4 separate regions of the Homo sapiens genome follow, and all the other regions are linked to region 1. The links are contacts of gene promoters, found by promoter capture Hi-C in blood cells and fetal thymus (Javierre and others, 2016). All regions are on one chromosome and are shown on one strand. Each heading gives the region's core, a stretch centred on a gene start or on the middle of the fragment in contact. The rest is flanking DNA. Distances are from core to core; before and after follow the strand shown.

Region 1 (4,122 bases), core at 725-3,224:
GGCCAAGGCGGGCGATCACTTGAGGTCAGGAGTTCGAGAGCAGCCTGGCTAACATGGTGAAACCCCATCTCTACTAAAAAAAAAAAAAAAAATTAGCCGTGTGTGGTGGCGGGTGCCTGTAATCCCAGCTACTAGGGAGGCTGAGGCAGGAGAATCGCTTGAATCCGGGAGGCGGAGGTTGCAGTGACCTGAGATCACACCCCTGCACTCCAACCTGGGTGACAGAATGAGATTCGGTCTCAAAAAATAAATAAATAAATAAATAAATAAAATTAAATGATTCTTGGTATTTTTAAAGAAAACAAAATTTAAATGTTTTAATAAACTGCAGTTAAATTCTTTCAACAAAAGTAGAGTGTGTATAAGCAAGTAAAAACTAAAAGTTGTCTTGAAGTCTACCACTGTCATTTCCCTCCGTGTAATACTGCTCTACATTTATGAAACCCTGTTTTTCCTGTTTGATACATTTTCCCAAGAGCTTGCCCTAGAGCTAAATTTTTTAACGCTTCTCATGTATCACTTAAATAACAATTGTACTAAAGTTTGTTTTTATTACTGAAGGCAAAAACTCCATTTTTGCCTGCCCATAAAAAATCATTGTTGTATCTGACATTTTTAAAGTGTACATTTTAAAGTGTCCTATCACATAATATGAACATAGGAAGAGAATGTCATGTTAAAAATTAGCAAAGTAATTGTTTCTGCACAGAATGCATTTTTCAATTTGGGCAGTTCTCCCAGAATAAAGTAAACAAGTGAAGCAACTAGCATTCTTACTAGAACAGTGACAAGGCATTTTCTTTTTAGTTTCTTTTCACTTATTAGTCTACTAGGATACTTGAATACTGTCTCTATGCTGGTGTCTAAAACCCTCAAAGGAGAGTACAATTGCAGGATAAACGAAGAGTGTCCAGGAAGAGAACTAGACAAGAAAGGAAACAGATGGTCTCTGGGCTCGGTGAGCTTGGAAGCTGTCGAAAGCAAACTCGACTGGACCCTCCAAACTCCTATTTCAGATCAATACATAAGGTTCAGCTGAGTTCGGCCTCCAGGCCCAAGAAAGCAAAAGCCAGCAACCCGGGGGCTGGTCGGCGGCTCCCTCGCCAGGGACGCCCCACAGCGAGACCATGCCTCTCCCACCTCTACCCCCGAAAACCAAAACAAAACAGAACCAAGCCCAAGCGGTGCTTGCTCGTTTCTTTTGTCTTGCTCAACGCTGACCACTTTTTTTCCGGAGAAGGTTAACGTTAAGGGAGCCCGGGGGAGCTCTCTGCGACCCCGCCAGGTGCTCCCCGAACCCCCGGCCCCATCAGAGGAATGAGGCGACCACCGAGCGGCGTTGGGCGGCCAGGTCCTCCCCGGCACCCCCGCCCCGGCTCCTGGAGGAGGGCAGGGACTGCCGGCCTGGGGCAGCCAGGGACCGACGGGACCCCCGCAGAGCCAGGCCCGAGGCCCCGGGCGCCCCCACGACCCGGCGGCCGCCCAGGGCGCCCGCCTGGGGCCTCACCCCAACCGGGGACAGGGCCGCCGAGGGCCGGGCCAAGGCCGCCCGGCTTGTCCCCGAGGCCGCCGGGGAGCGTAGGCCGCCGCCATCCCCGGCCTGCCGTGCGCCCGCAGCCCGCGGCCTTACCGCCTCCACGGCGTGCTGCAGGATGGAGGTGAACTTGGAGAACATCCTGTCCCGGGACTGCAGCAGCCTCTCCCGGGACGACCTGGAGAGCTCCTCGATCCGCCGCCGCCGCCCCTGCTGCGGCTGCCGGGGCCGCTCCAGAGTGAAGGCCGGTGCGGGGCGGGGAGGACGAGCTGAGGATCGAGGCAGGGCCTGGCCCGGCCGCTTCAGGTGTGCGCGGGCGGCTCGGCGGCTCCGGAGGGCGCCGGGACGCGGCGGGCGGCGAGGAGGGCGTTCGGCGAGGACTCGGGGCCCGGAGAAGCTCCGGCGGCGGCACCGGTTGGGACACGGTGGCAGCCCGGCTCGGGTTCCTTCCCCCCGCTCTGCCCGCCGCGGCCTGCAGGGGGCGCCGCCGCAGCCCGGGGAGGCCCGGCCAGGCCTGCCCTGCGGCGGGGCCGCTAGGCGCCGCGGGGGCGGGGGGCGCGCTGAGGCCTCGGCCTCGCGCGGGGCTGGAGGCGGCCTGTGGGCAGCCACCGCCCTCTCCCGGCTTTCTCAGGGCGCCTGGGACACCGGCTTTCTAACATTTTTACAGCTCAGCGATTCTCAAGAGTTTTGTTTCTCCAGTGGAAGTAACAGGCTGACTTTGTAGGGACACGCAGCCGTCCATATATGCGTATAGCATTCAGAGGTTCTTCCTGTAAGGACCGATTTGGAAGACTCGTTAAGAAAACAGTGTTCTTTAAGCAAACATTGGCAATGGATTTAAATGCTCAGATTTTGAAGAAATCAACGACTGCAGGTGAAATGGCTTTGCTAACTTTAAAATATATTATTATTCAACATTGAAACAGGAAATCCCACATGAGCACATGGTAAGACGGCTGGCTTAGTTTAAATAGCCCATTATAATATTTATATATAATATATAACATAATTTATTTGTGATATGGTTGATAGTGAGGTGTAGTGATTCAGAACAGCATTTTCTATTCAGTTATCAGATGATACCGGAAAACATTAGCGAGGGAAAGAATCTGAAAGGAGTCCAGTAAATGCCTAAGGCAGATAAATAGAGCTACAAGGTAAGCACTTGGGTGGAGGCTGCTTAAAATACTCCCTAACAGTGTATTAGTCAAGCCTTGAAGAAGCAGTTCAGGCTGGTAAAGTTTAGGTTGAGTTAATACAAATTATGAAAATATTTGTATCCTGAAGAAATTTGTTTTATGCTGGTATTGGCGTTTTACCAAAAGGTTCATTAAGTTCTTAAGATGAGGTGGGGAGTGAGTTTTGCACAACCAGTGCTGAAAATACGTATCTGGCCCAGGCGCGGTGGCTCACGCCTGTAATCTCAGCACTCTGGGAGGCAAAGGCGGGAGGATCACTTGAGGCCAGGAGTTCGAGACCAGCCTGGCCAACATGGTGAAACTCCGTCTCTATTAAAAATACAAAAAAAAAAAAAAAAAAAAAATTAGCCGAACGTGGTGGTGTAATGGGATTACATGCTTGTAATCCCAGCTACTTGGGAGGCTGAGGCAGGAGAATCCTTGAACTCGGGAGGCGGAAGTTGCAGTGAGCCAAGGTTGCGCCATTGCGCTCCAGCCTGGACAACAAGAGCAAAACTCCATCTCAAAAAAAAAAAAAAAAATACACACACACACACACACACACACACACACACACACACATACATGTATACACACACATACGTTTATACATACACAAACGTATATATACACATACGTATATATACATGTATACACACACACACGTATATATATCTGTAATTGATTCATGGAACAGAGAAAAGGTGGCTGTCATATGGAGTGGTGGTAACTGGCCAGGCTCTGGGGCTGGGTAGCCTAAGTCCCAGCTCTGCCACCCACAGTGGAAAGTTATTTAACTTCTTTGTGTTTTAATTTGCTTATATGTCAAAAGGGGAGAACAGTACCTACCTCTTGAGGTTGTTGTGGGAATTAATTAATATATGTAAAACACTTTAACAGTGCCCAGTCCCTAGTAAGAGATGCACAGACACTTATACTTGTTCTGAGTTGTGGTAGTGGTATTTAGCAAAATAATAGGGCCAGAAATCAGGAATTAAGGAGGAGATCTTAACTGGGCTTCTTTTCCCTCCTGTTTTTGTGGTTTATATCCCTGCGGTGCTCCTTGGCAGATAAATACGACCTTAATTTTCTACGTACTACCCCCAGAATGCTGGAGGCATCCTCTGTTGTTTTGTGCCCCTTACCAAATTCTGGCCGTGTCTGCTTCAACTGAGAGCATGTATGTATGCTTATTGTTATTATATTCATACACAGTTTAAGATGGTTAGTCATATTATTAACCATAATTAGTTTCATGATCTAATTATCATGCATTTATATGGCATTTTGTAGTTCCAAAATGCCTTACAACCACTAATTGTATGAGGAGGTCTTAGTTAGAGTTGTGTGTATTTGATGATGTCTATCTTTGTGTACTTATTATAAACACAATAAAATATATGTTTTGCT
Region 2 (4,122 bases), core at 658-3,157, 970 kb after region 1:
ATAATCCAACTGGGGCAGTTATCAGCTGTGAGGCCCTGGGCATGTGACTTAACCTCTCTGTGCTTCCATTTCCTCAACTGTGAAAGGGGAATGATAGGAGCACCTCACTGGGATATAGAGGTAATTGAATAAGGTAATATCTCCTCAAGTGTTTAGGTATCCCCTCAAGTGTTTAGGACTGTGTGTGGCAGGCCGGGCGCGGTGGCTCACGCCTGTAATCCCAGCACTTTGGGAAACGGAGGCGGGAGGATCACTTGAAATCAGGAGGTCGAGACCAGCCTGGCCAACATAGTGAAACGCCGTCTCTACTAAAAATACAAACAAAACAAAACAAAACAAAACAAAACAAAACAACTAGCCAGGCGTGGTGGCGCGGGCCTGTAGTCCCAGCTACTCCGGAGGCTGAGGCAGGTGAATCGCCTGAACCTGGGAGGCGGAGGTTGCAGTGAGCCAAGATCACGCCACTGTACTCCAGCCTGGGAGACAGAGCGAGACTCCGTATCAAAAAAAAACAAAAAAAAACCCTGTGTGTGATACATGAAAAAGTGATCAATAAATGTCAAGATGATGCAGAAAGATGACCAGAAGACACTGGGGAACCAGATTGAATGGACAGAATGGTGTGGACGTTGCAATCATTGCCACCGGGGACACTAAATATTCACGGAGTGTCCACTTGGCTAATATCAGGCGCGGGCGGAACTCAGGATACACAGACGAGTATGTGGATCCCCGTGCCAGGGAAACCCCCGTCGGTGGCCGCTTGGGGACCCCTGGGAATTGCAGAACACGCGAACAGCGGCCCAAGTTAGGCGAAGGGCCACTCCCCGGGGCGCCAGCGGCACAAACCCGCCTAGCCCACCGCTTCGCGGGAGGGCGCCGTCCCCGAGGAAGGGGAGGTGCCGGGAGGGGCCCCCACCCCGACGCCAGCCCCTCACCTTCCGGAAACTCGGGTACTGACAAGTCCTGCTCCCAGCCGTCCACCTTCTGCAGATACTGGTAGACCAGGCTGTCCTTCTCCTGCTGGGTAACGGCGTCGAGCAGGGCGTACTCTAGCGAGGTCTGCGCGGGGAGCAGGCCGGAGAGGCTGCGGCCCCGGCCTCCGGGCGCCGCCATGTTTCCGCCGGGCTCCCGATGCGGCCGCCGGGCCCGCGGGAGAGTCTCGCTGGGAGAGACGAAACGTTCACTGTCCTGTGGTTTCCAAACGGCGCATTCACCTCACCCTCCACTAGCCCCACTCCACGCCAATGACACTTTTTTCTTTTTAAAGCATAGGTCCAAGTGCCAAAAGTCCAAATCGGCGCAGTTCCCGGGGACGTAATTAAACTGCCGTCCGACCCACCCCGCCCCTTTTCGGTCCCCACGCCGCAGCCGAGCCTGGACATTGAGAGCGTCAGATTCAACATGGAATAAGGCCTTAGGGACAGCGTCCCAGAGGCGCTAAGGGAAACATCCCCAACCCTCCACATTGGGAATTAGCGGACTTTCGAACACAAATAAAATACAATAAATCCGTAGGACTTAAAAGGGCAATGTATTTTTAAAAATTATTTTTAAAGTCTCTCTCTTTGAACAGCATCCGCCGATTCGACACGGCACTGGCAGCGGGAACTTGTTCCCGCCAAGACCCTAAAGGTAAAGCGGGTAGGGATAACCTCCAGAGAGAAGGCTTTGTAAACTGGAAGTGACTGGCGCGAGTGGCTTTCACTTATACACAAACACAGCGTTTTGTCATCTGGGAGTGCTGAAAGTGCGGGCGCGAACACATTTTTAGATGGGGGTGCCGGGAGGAGCGGATGCAGCTGGAGCGGCTCCCTTGGGGTGCCGAGTGGCAGGTGGGGGGCGGTGAGGGTCCTTGAGGGCGGGCCTTAGAGTCTTCAGAAGGGCAGGACTCTGAGGGCTTTTTGGAGCTCGCTATGCTTAACCTGGAGATGATTAAGGCCCCGCTTCCTGGCCTCCCAGCCTCTAATGCCAAAAGATAAGGGAGAGGCTGGCGTGTGACCCCGTTTTGAGTCAGGTGGACAGAGGGCTGGCCACCTTCGGAACCATGGGTGCAATACGGAGTCAGACCTCAATACAAGCCCACTCTTTCACATATTTGAACTTTTTTCACATATCAACTTTTTTTGTTCACTGTGCAGGGATTGTTCATTGCTGCTGGAGGAAGATCATGGACTGTCGCGGGAAACTGAAGTGGTTGAGTATCCACTAGTCGTGGATGAGGGCAGTGACTTCGCAGTTTTTTGCGAATTACACATCTCTTTGATTATGTTGTGACTAGTTTTGTTAGATAGTCATTTAGTGTTTGGGATACCTGTTAAGCCCTTTGTCCAGGGACTGTGGTTGGATTTATGAATTATTTGGACGGTTGTCCACTTGAAAGAACTGACAGTAGCTTCATAACAATGTTACAAATCTCGTTCTAAGATTAAGCTGTTGAACCTATATTTGCCATTAGCGCTTAATTTTTGAAGTATTATTTTTATGAATCAAGCCCTGGAAAAGGACAAGATATTTGAATGAAATAGCACCCATAATGGAGAACTTCACAGTTGCTACTCCTGTGATAGGTTTATCTTAGTTTCATTGTGGTATAAATGGAATAGCAGGTGTTGTCAGGTACAAGGTTTGTAGCTTGCCAATATGTTCATTACCAACACTGCAGATTCCCATTGAGTTGGTGGGGGTTTTGTTACCTTTGTTTTTTTTCTCAGCAAAATAATTCTATAACTTTTTGTTTGTGACAAGAAATGGACTTTCAGTTTACTTAAGATTAATACTTCTTGAATGATAAAATCATTTTGCCATGTTAGAAGACATTTCCGAAGAAGACATTTGGGAATACAAATCTAAAAGAAAACCAAAACGAGTTGATCCAAATAATGGCTCTAAAAATATTCTAAAATCTGTTGAAAAAGCAACAGATGGAAAATACCAGTCAAAACGGAGTAGAAACAGAAAAAGAGCCGCAGAAGCTAAAGAGGTGAAGGACCATGAAGTGCCCCTTGGAAATGCAGGTTGTCAGACTTCTGTTGCTTCTAGTCAGAATTCAAGTTGTGGAGATGGTATTCAGCAGACCCAAGACAAGGAAACTACTCCAGGAAAACTCTGTAGAACTCAAAAAAGCCAACACGTGTCCCCAAAGATACGTCCAGTTTATGATGGATACTGTCCAAATTGCCAGATGCCTTTTTCCTCATTGATAGGGCAGACACCTCGATGGCATGTTTTTGAATGTTTGGATTCTCCACCACGCTCTGAAACAGGTAAGACTGCAGAAAACGTAGTAGTTTCTAAATAATCTAAAAAGTCTTCATTAGGTCAGACATACCAATTCAGTGAAACAAGGAAGGCAAGCAGTAACCTAAAAGAGAGATGAGACACTGGGAAACACCATACCAGTCAACGGTATAATTGTAAAGCAAATGGCAGACTAGAAAACAGTTTAAATACATTGTGTTATTTCATAAAAGTTCCTAAGTATCTGGATTATTTTCCATAAATGTTAACTGAATCCTTACTATGCTGGGTACTTTCACACTGTCTACTTACCCAACTTTCACAATCACCATATAAGGTAGCTAGTATTGACATTTTATAGATGAAAGTTCTTAAAAGTCAGATAACTTGTCCAATTGGTTATTTATTTTTTTGAGACGGAGTCTCTCTCTGTTGCCCAGATTGGAGTGCAGTGGCGCTATCTTGGCTCACTGCAAGCTCCGCTTCCTAGGTTCATGCCATTCTCCTGCCTCAGCTTCCCGAGTAGCCGGGACTACAGGCGCCCGCCACCGCACCCGGCTAATTTTTTGTATTTTTAGTAGAGACGGGGTTTCGCCGTGTTAGCCAGGATGGTCTCGATCTCCTGACCTCGTGATCTGCCCGCCTCGGCCTCCCAAAGTGCTGGTATTACAGGCATGAACCACCGCGCCCGGCCCCAGTTGGTGGTTATTATGGAACTCCATAGAAAATTATAAATAGGCTGGGCACAGTGGCTCATGCCAGTAATCCCAGTACTTTGGGAGGTGGAGGCAGGCGGATCACTTGAGCCTAGGAATTCAAGACCAGCCTGTGCAACATGGTGAAACCCCATCTTTACAAAAAAAATTACCAAAAATTAGCCAG
Region 3 (4,122 bases), core at 414-2,913, 780 kb after region 1:
GCTCGTCCAGGCTCGAGTCGCTGTCCGCCGCCGCCCCGCCGTTGCAGCCGGCCCAGGGCTCCAGCAGGCGCGCGGGCGGCGTGGCCCCGACGACATCGTCGTCGTCGTCGTCCGAGGCGGCCCCGGGCGATGGCGGGGGTCCGGGCCGGGCCAGACAGCCCGAGGCGCGCGGCCGGTCTCCGTGGGTCGCGTGGCGCCGGCGGGCAGCCCTGCGCGCGCAGCAGAGCAGTCCCTGGAAGGCCTTGCGGAAGTCGGGGCTGCGGCAGTAGATGATGGGGTTGAAGGCCGAGTTGGCGTAGCCCAGCCAGTTGAAGAAGACGAAGAGGCGGTCGGGCACCAGCTCGCGGTGGAAGGCCTTCACCACGTTGGCCAGGAAGAAGGGCAGCCAGCAGAGCGTGAAGACGCCCATGATGATGCCCAGCGTCTTGAGCGCCTTCTGCTCGCGCAGGGCCACGAGGCGCGAGGGCCGCCGCTTACCCGCACGCCCGTTGGCCAGCGGGGCGGTGGCGGCGGCGGCGGCGGGGCGCGGGGGTCCGGGCGGCGGCGCGGGCGCGGGGACGGGCGAGGGCGAGGGCGAGGGCGGCCGCGCTGGGCCGCCGAGGAAACGGCGCTCGCAGCTGTCGATCTTCTTCACCTGCTTCTGGGCCTCGCGGAACACCCGCAGGTACACGAAGGCCATGATGCACAGGGGCACGTAGAAGGAGACTACGGACGAGGCGATGGCGTAGGCCCGGTTGGTGACGAAGTCGCAGCACTTGGGGTCGTTGTAGCAGCGGCGCGCCTCGTCGCTCTCCGCCCGCCACCAGTGCATGAGGATGGGCAGGAAGGACACCAGGGCCGAGATGGCCCACACGGTGCACACGAGGCCCCGCGCCCGCGCGCGCGTCAGCAGGCTCTGGTAGCGGAAGGGCGAGGTGATGGCGAGGTAGCGGTCCAGGGCAATGACACACAGGGTCTCGATGCTGGCCGTCACGCACAGCACGTCCACTGAGGTCCACAGCTCGCAGAAGAAGGAGCCGTACTCCCAGCGGCCCCACACCACGATGGTGGCCCCGAACGGCACCACCAGCAGCCCCATGACCAGGTCGGCGCTGGCCAGGGACATGATGAAGAGGTTGGTGAGCGTCTGCAGCCGCGGCGTCTTGGCGATGGCCACGATCACCAGCACATTGCCCGCCACGATGAGCAGCACGATGAGCGCCATCAGCAGACCCATGCCCGCTGTCCACTGCTGAGACAGCGGCTCGGGGCTTTCGCTGGCGGGAGGCAGCAACGAGGCGGGCGGCGACGCGGGCACCAGCAGCCGCGCCGCGGTGGCCGCGCCGTCGGGGAGCGGTGCGGCCGACGACAGGTTACCGGGCTCGGAGGCGCCCAGGACGAGCACCCCCGCGCCCATGCCGAGCTGCGGAGGCCGGGGGCGGGGGGTGTGGCAGGGCTGGGCCGTGGTTGGGGAACACCCCAGAAGCCCGGGCGGCGTGGTGCGCAGAGGGAGGTCGCGGCCGGGTCAGGGCAGCCGCGGCGCGGGGCCGGAGGCATGGGCGCCGGGCGCCTTTCCCGCAGGAGCCGAGCGCTGTCGCTGCCGCTGCCGCCGCCGCCGCCGCCGCCGCTGCTGCTGGAGCCGCTGCCGCTGCTGGAAGAGCCGCCGGGACTTCAGCATGTTTCTGAGCGCGCCGGGCCCGCAGCTCCGGCACCCAGCACCCACCCCACCCCGCTCCCACTCCCCAAGCCAACCCCCGGGGCCTCGCGTCAGGCTCCTGCAGCCAATCCGGGCAAAGGCACGCCCCCGTCTGGTCTGCACCCCCACCTCCAACTCCCCGCACCCCCCTCCCGTTGGCAATTGAGCGGCTCCTGAGAGTCCCGAGCTGATCGCGTAGCTAGTGCCTCCCGTGCGCCCGCGGGTTCCTGCGGACGCACCCCTTCCTGCGCCCGCTGGTTCCTGGTCCCTGTTCCCCCGCGCCCCCTTCCGCGCCTGGCTCCCCCCGGGGCCCCGTCCCCTCCCTCAGCCCCCACTCGCTCCCGCACCCACTCCTGCGCCCCGTTTGCCTCCCGCACCCGCTCCTGCGCCCCGTTTGCCTCCCGCACCCGCTCCTGCGCCCCGTTTGCCTCCAGCACTCGGCTCCCTCCTGCGCCCCCGCTCCCCCCGCATCCCCTCGACCTGCAGTTCCGGGGTTCTCTGCGGAACAGAGCGCTAGCTCCCTTGAGCGGGGAGGGGACCTTGGTGTTCAGGAAGCGCCAGAGCGCCTGGGACAGCTTGTCCGCCAGGCTTGGAGGAGTTTGCCCTGCGAGCTTGGTTGTGATGTGGGGCAGCCTAGCAGGGTGTGTGTAAAACCCTTCCCCCGTCAAGACGGGACCCAGCCAGCATGCGTCGTGACAGCTTGGGGGATTGGAGGTGGGTGTTAGTGGTTAGAAGAAACTTCCCAGCAGAGCGGGTTGCTGGAGCCAAGCGCGCATCTGTCAAGAATGCTCTCTGGGCGCTGTTCTTGCAAGGATCCTCTGTTGAACCTCGAGTGCAGTAGATGTGGAAAGGAAGCGAAGGTTTGTGCATCTAACAGCTAACGCTGAGGGCCCTTTGGAATCGTACACACTCCTCAGTCCTAGCTAATGAACGTGTGAGCATGATGCAAAAATGTATGCTCATGATATGAAAGGAGAGGCTTAGGGAGACAGAAACGTTGAGATACAGAGTAAACGATACCACCGCGAGGGGGAAAAAACGCGTTTAATTACATTTTAGACTTTTCAATGATAACACCTGTATTTTGTGTTTTATTACTCATGTGATTTTATAATTTGAGCTGGGTCAATACAAACAAAAAGGTACTGTCAGTTTATGCTGACGTAATGAACTGCGATTTCAGATTCCTTGGTCTGCGTGCTTGTTTTCTCCTTTGCCCAAGTTCCCAGATTCTCAAAACTCTGAGATTAGTTTTGAAGGGATGAGACAAGAAAACATATAAATACTCCAGAGGATTAAAATCCAAAAGCATTTAAAGTTGTATCTGTGGTTTTTTTTTTTTTTTTTTTTGAGTTGGCAAATGAATTGCTTTGAAATTAGTGAGTTGTTAACCTGGCAAAAAGGATTATACTGGGGGTGAGGGGACAAGAAAGCCATGAATATGCAATATGGCAGGACTGCAAGCCCCTTCTCTAATTTGGCTCCTGTAGTGTCCTCAGCTCAGGCCTGAAATAAAAAAAAAAATAAAAAAATTAAAAAAATCTCTAATTGAGTCCTTGAGGAGTAAACAGCTTCTAATTGTTTATGTAAGGGTGCATGAAAATGTTATATAATGCTCACAGGTCCTTCTAGCATTGGAATAAGAACAGCGCCCGTAACGAACATCATGTTCGTTGATGGTCATCAATATGACCAAGCTCATATCCTTACCTTGCAAGGAGAGACCGACTTCCACAGCTGTCCAGGTCAAAAGCAAAAAGTAATGTTTTTCAAGTTTATATAAAATCAAGCAGTTTTAACCACTTTCTCTTACATAAATGCAAACATATGAATTTGCTTTAGGCCCAAACCTCAGCATCAGTATGTTAAAACTGGGGAGTGATTTGTTTATTCACCCCCTGCCCATGATTTATCAGCTGATTTTCCAACTTGGGGAGGTTGAGGAGGAGTGGCCAGGAAACAAGAGGCGTTAGAAAGGGGAGGAAGGAGACTACACCCCAAGTTATCCAAGTCACTGAAAGCCTGAGACTCCTGGCTTCTTTCTTTTTATTTTTTTGAGACAGAGTTTCACTTTTGTTGCCCAGGCTGGAGTTCAGTGGCGTGATCTTGGCCCACTGCAACCTCTGCCTCCCGGGTTCAAGTGATTCTCCTGCCTCAGCCTGTCAAGTAGCTGGGATTACAGGCGTGTGCCGCCACACACGGCTAATTTTGTATTTTTAGTGGAGATGGCGTTTTACCATGTTGGTCAGGCTGGTCTCGAACTCCTGACCTCAGGTGATCCACCCACCTTGGCCTCCCAAAGTGCTGGGATTAGAGGCATGAGCCACTGTCCCCGGCCTCCTGGCTTCCTTCTGGACCCACAAGGGGCAGTCTCAAAATAGCCAAGGGATTGGAAGAAGTTGAAATTGACGCTGCCCAGGAAAGGAGTTCTGAGTGCTGAGCTGCAG
Region 4 (4,122 bases), core at 972-3,471, 580 kb after region 1:
CTGAGAAAGCTACGTACTACATGATTCCAATCATAAGACATTCTGGAAAAGGTAAAACTATTGAGACAGTAGAAAGATCAGTGATTACCATGTGTTGTAGGGAGGGTGGGATGCACAGAAGATTTTTACGGTAGTGAAACTATGCTGTTTGATACTATAATGGCAGATTTATGTCATTTTACATTTGTCCAAAGCCATAGAATGTACAACAGGAGCAAACCCCAGGGCAAACTGTGAACTTTGGGTCATAATGATGTGCCAGTGTCGGTTCATCAGTTGGAACAAATGTACCACTGCAGTGGGGGATGCTGACAATGGGGGAGTCTGTGCATAGGCGGGGACAGGAGGTATATGGGAAACCTGTACCTTCTGCTCAATTTTGCTTTGAACCTAACACTCTAAAACTGGGTCTCAGTTTCCTCATCTGTAAAAACATGGGCTTCTGACTATGATTCGGATATCCCAGGGGCTTGTGCCTATTGAAGAGAGGGGAAATACTGGCTGTAATCTCTGTACGGTAGACCAAAAACCAGATTTAATGAAAATACACTGATGGTTTTCAGCCAGAGATGATGAGGAAAGCAATCCTCTTCTCCAACCTGGGATTTGCCTGGGGACCTAGTCTGAGAAATTCTTACACTACTAGGAGATGGCTCTGGGCTGGATTTTACAAAAGAAGAGTAAGGCCTGAGGAGCTCTGAACCCCCATCAGTCACAAGAGAGGATGGCTTCAGCCTGCTGAAAGCCAGCAGCATTTACAAATTCATGCCTGTGGCTTTTGCCAACTCTAGTGGTACCTTTCTGACCTCTTCACTTCTCTGACTCTTCAATAAATCGACATTTCTTAATATAGTGTCACCTTAACAGCAAAAGAGACCTTGAATTTTTGGGACTGAATTTATAAAACACTTAGAGGTTCTGGGGTTTTACTTAAAGCAGCTTGTAATTTGAAAAATGTACACGTTCTAATTATTCCAATCTCCAAGACATCAAACACATGGCATGAGGTCCCCATTGCTAAGTCCCCTTTCAGCTTCAGCTGGAGCCCTTGATTCCACAATCACAAGCAGCAAGGTGCCCTCCTCCCTTCTCTTCTGTCTGGTGCCCCCAGCAAGTTTTCAAGGTTCAATTCTGAGACTCTCCCATTCACCGTCCCAGCAGGTGGCCAAGGGCCCAAGGCGGGAGGGAAAGGTCGGCTTAGCTAGGGAAAGTTTTGTTAGCCTTATTGGAAGGGAAGGAGACATGCAGGAAGCAGGGCTGAGCCAGGTGGGGGAAGTCACCAGAACGACAAACCCCTGGACTTCCCACTGCCCAAGCGCGAGGACTCTCGGGGCAGCCGGCCCCTCTCAGGTTCTGCTTGCAGACACTTCGCTGGGGGCACTCGTTCTGCCTGGGAAAACTGCCCCAAGTCCCCTTAACACCTGTGTATGTCCTGTAGTGGGGTGTGGGGTGGAAGCGAGCATGTCACCAAAGCCTTTATTCAAAGGGCGAGTCCCTTTCCGCGGCCGCCAGGGAAGGGGGCCCCGCTACTGTGCCAGGAGGGCAGCTTGGGTTTAATACATGCCCTCCTCCACCCCTGTACCCGGAGCCCCTACCCACTTACCTGCTGACCGCACCCCTCCCAAAACCCCGCCAGCTCGCCCGGGACGGACCGCGAGTGGCCACGAGGGAGGCGCGCGCCAGGTGCGCTCTTCCCCCGACGCCGCCGTGCCAGGAAGGCCGCGCTCAGGTGCGCGCAGACAATGCGAACAAAGCCCGCACCCTCGGCGGGGCCGCGCAGCCCGGGTGCTCTGGGTAGGGGTGGCTGGGCAGAGGGGGCCCCAGTACCGGGAGCGTGAATCGGTCATCGGCAGCCGGCACTGGCGGGTACCCGGGCGCCAGAGCCAACTCGGGGCTGGGACTCACCGGAAGGAGAGCGGCGACCAGCGCTCGGTGCCCGGGCGGCTCTACTCACAGACCCGGGCGCGGCTCGGGCCAGGGGGCGCTACGGGATCACAGGAGGGGCGCCCGGGGCGCGGCTGCCACGTGGGACACCTGTTTGTCTCTCCTGGGAGAGGGCGGCACGACCCGACCCGGCTGAGGTCGGAGGAACTACCGCCAGGGAGGTGCATAGAGCCCCTCGCGTTTTTTAAAGCGGCATCGGCCCAGGTCTGCAAATAAAAAAGTACTTCACTTCTACGCGGGTCACCCAGCCTCCGAGCGGTGCAGCCGCGAACACTGTGCCGTCAGCTGACTCCTCCACGGGCTTTATAGCTCCTTGAAAAAATGTTGACTTTGGCATCTTTTCTATTTGTCATGGCAATTGCCTTTTAATTACCTGTCCCTCCTATTGTTGCAGTTGGGTAATAAGCCGACCTTTTGGCCATCATCCTTGCTTAAGATTGGAGGGCGTTTGATTTTTAAAAAATCAAATGCCACAAAGCACAATGCTGAGCATGATGCTTTATATAAAGTAAGCTCTCAATGAACGTTGACTATGACTGCACAATCCATAATTTCCATACTTCATTTAAAAACTGCCAGAGCATGCCTGTTCATTGCAAAAAAAAAAAAAAGAAAAGAAATAACAGTAAAAAAGTTGATAAATCAATCATTTTCCAACACCCAGAGATAATCAGTTAACATTGTGGTGTATGTTCTTCCAATGTCATTCTACCTATGCAAAAATTTATATATTTTTAGTTCATTCCATACAAGCTGTACATTACTCAGGTTTTCCATTTCCTTTTTTTGAATGTCCGTTTTAAGCCACTTCATAATGTCCTAATGTACTTAACCTATCTGCTATTGTTGAATATTAAACTTTCCATTTTAATAATACAATTAGATGTCTTTGTGCTTTTGTCCAATTAATTCCTTAGAATAAACTACGAAAAGGTAAATTTCTAGGATACAGGTTTTATACAACTTAAGACTTTTGATGCCTATTATCTAATTGTCCTCAAGGAAGGTTGACCTGCTTCCTCTTTTCCATGCTCCTTCCCATTATTCTTGTAAATGTCAATCTGATAGGAAAATAATTTGCTTTACACCTTTCCTGTCTGTAGTTCTCAGTTAATTTCCAAACCTCCGACACTGACAGCTTCCAGTGAAAGTGGCCCGTGGTGACTTTAATGTTGCAAACCTCATTGAAGGAGGCTAGGAAAGGACTCATTTTTCCTGTAATTCATTTCTCCCAGTAACATTTACTGAGCACCCAAAAATAAAAACAGGGCCACACCAGAGCAGCAGACATAATGTACCACCACATCATCCCCACAGGGGACAGCAGTTAGTCTTGAGGTCTAACTGCTGGGGAGGGATGGTCTCTGCCTCTAGATCAGCATTGCCCCAGAGAAATACTGACCAAGCCACGTGTGTAATTTTAAATGTTCTAGTGGTCACATTTAATAAAAAGTGAAAAGAAACAGCAAGCTGGATTTCAGTATTAACCTAAACATCCGGAACATTATCTCAACATGTAATCAATAAAGATGTTTTATGCTGTCTTCAAAGTCCTGTTTTTTTGTTTTTTTTTTTTTTTTTTTTGTTTGAGACAGAGTCTCACTCTGTTGCCCAGGCTGGAGTGCAATGGCATGATCTTGGCTCACTGCAACCTCTGCCTCCCAGGTTCAAATGGTTCTCCTGCCTCAGCCTCCCGAGTAGCTGGGATCACAGGTGCACACCACCATGCCCGGCTAATTTTTGTATTTTTAGTAAAGACAGGGTTTTGCCATGTTGGCCAGGCTGGTCTCAAACTCCTGACCTCAGGTAATCCACCCGCCTCAGCCTCCCAAAATGCTGGGATCATAGGCGTGAGCCACCACGCCTGGCCAATCCTGTTGTATTCTATACTCACAAGCACATCTCAATTTGGACTCGCCACATTTTTAAGTGCTGTATAGTCAAATGGGGTGAGTGGCCTGTGCTGCTCCAGAGATGTCCAACAAGGGCAGACCCCAGGTCCTCAAGAAAGTGGAAATTCTACCTTTGACAACCCTCTCCCTGTACCCCTTATGCTGTTTAACAGGTACCAGCATACTTTGACCTTATCAGGCTTACCTTGGAGAAGCCAAATTTCAATCCTGGTTGTTCCTGAAGTATTTGGCATGTCTTTAATTGGGGGCGGGGGGGGGGGAGGTA

What was found. Contacts are between HindIII fragments. The CHiCAGO score rates a contact against its expected background, and 5 or more counts as called.
Region 2: the fragment with the promoter of DCLRE1A here is called in contact with the fragment with the promoter of FHIP2A in region 1 in 9 of 17 cell types (total CD4 T cells, activated CD4 T cells, naive CD4 T cells and 6 more); the score reaches 12.8 in total CD4 T cells.
Region 3: a contact is called between the fragment with the promoter of ADRB1 here and the fragment with the promoter of FHIP2A in region 1, in 4 of 17 cell types (activated CD4 T cells, neutrophils, naive CD8 T cells and 1 more). The highest score is 10.2, in activated CD4 T cells.
Region 4: a contact is called between the fragment with the promoter of VWA2 here and the fragment with the promoter of FHIP2A in region 1, in 11 of 17 cell types (M2 macrophages, fetal thymus, total CD4 T cells and 8 more). The highest score is 12.9, in M2 macrophages.

Annotation. Positions count from the first base shown.
Region 1 is chr10:114,819,632-114,823,753 of GRCh38, reverse strand. It overlaps FHIP2A (FHF complex subunit HOOK interacting protein 2A), which reads right to left and starts at 1,974. Exons shown (of 17, transcript NM_020940.4): 1 at 1,631-1,974. The coding sequence starts at 1,675. It overlaps LOC124902508 (translation initiation factor IF-2-like), which reads left to right and starts at 806. Exons shown (of 2, transcript XM_047426127.1): 1 at 806-2,481. The coding sequence starts at 1,653. The coding sequence ends at 2,258. RefSeq lists silencers at 1,276-1,495, 1,556-1,905, 1,916-2,225 and an enhancer at 1,070-1,570. The HindIII fragment of the contact is 9,749 bases long and covers 1-4,122 here.
Region 2 is chr10:113,851,867-113,855,988 of GRCh38, reverse strand. DCLRE1A (DNA cross-link repair 1A) reads left to right here and starts at 1,907. Exons shown (of 9, transcript NM_014881.5): 1 at 1,907-3,266. The coding sequence starts at 2,807. It overlaps NHLRC2 (NHL repeat containing 2), which reads right to left and starts at 1,328. Exons shown (of 11, transcript NM_198514.4): 1 at 939-1,328. The coding sequence starts at 1,116. RefSeq lists an enhancer at 144-848 and a silencer at 859-1,218. The HindIII fragment of the contact is 6,407 bases long and covers 1-4,122 here.
Region 3 is chr10:114,041,407-114,045,528 of GRCh38, reverse strand. It overlaps ADRB1 (adrenoceptor beta 1), which reads right to left and starts at 1,663. Exons shown (of 1, transcript NM_000684.3): 1 at 1-1,663. The coding sequence starts at 1,396. RefSeq lists silencers at 1,566-1,625, 1,696-1,975 and an enhancer at 2,246-2,295. The HindIII fragment of the contact is 8,909 bases long and covers 1-4,122 here.
Region 4 is chr10:114,237,353-114,241,474 of GRCh38, reverse strand. VWA2 (von Willebrand factor A domain containing 2) reads right to left here and starts at 2,221. Exons shown (of 14, transcript NM_001272046.2): 1 at 1,906-2,221. RefSeq lists an enhancer at 1,602-2,310. The HindIII fragment of the contact is 4,541 bases long and covers 1-4,122 here.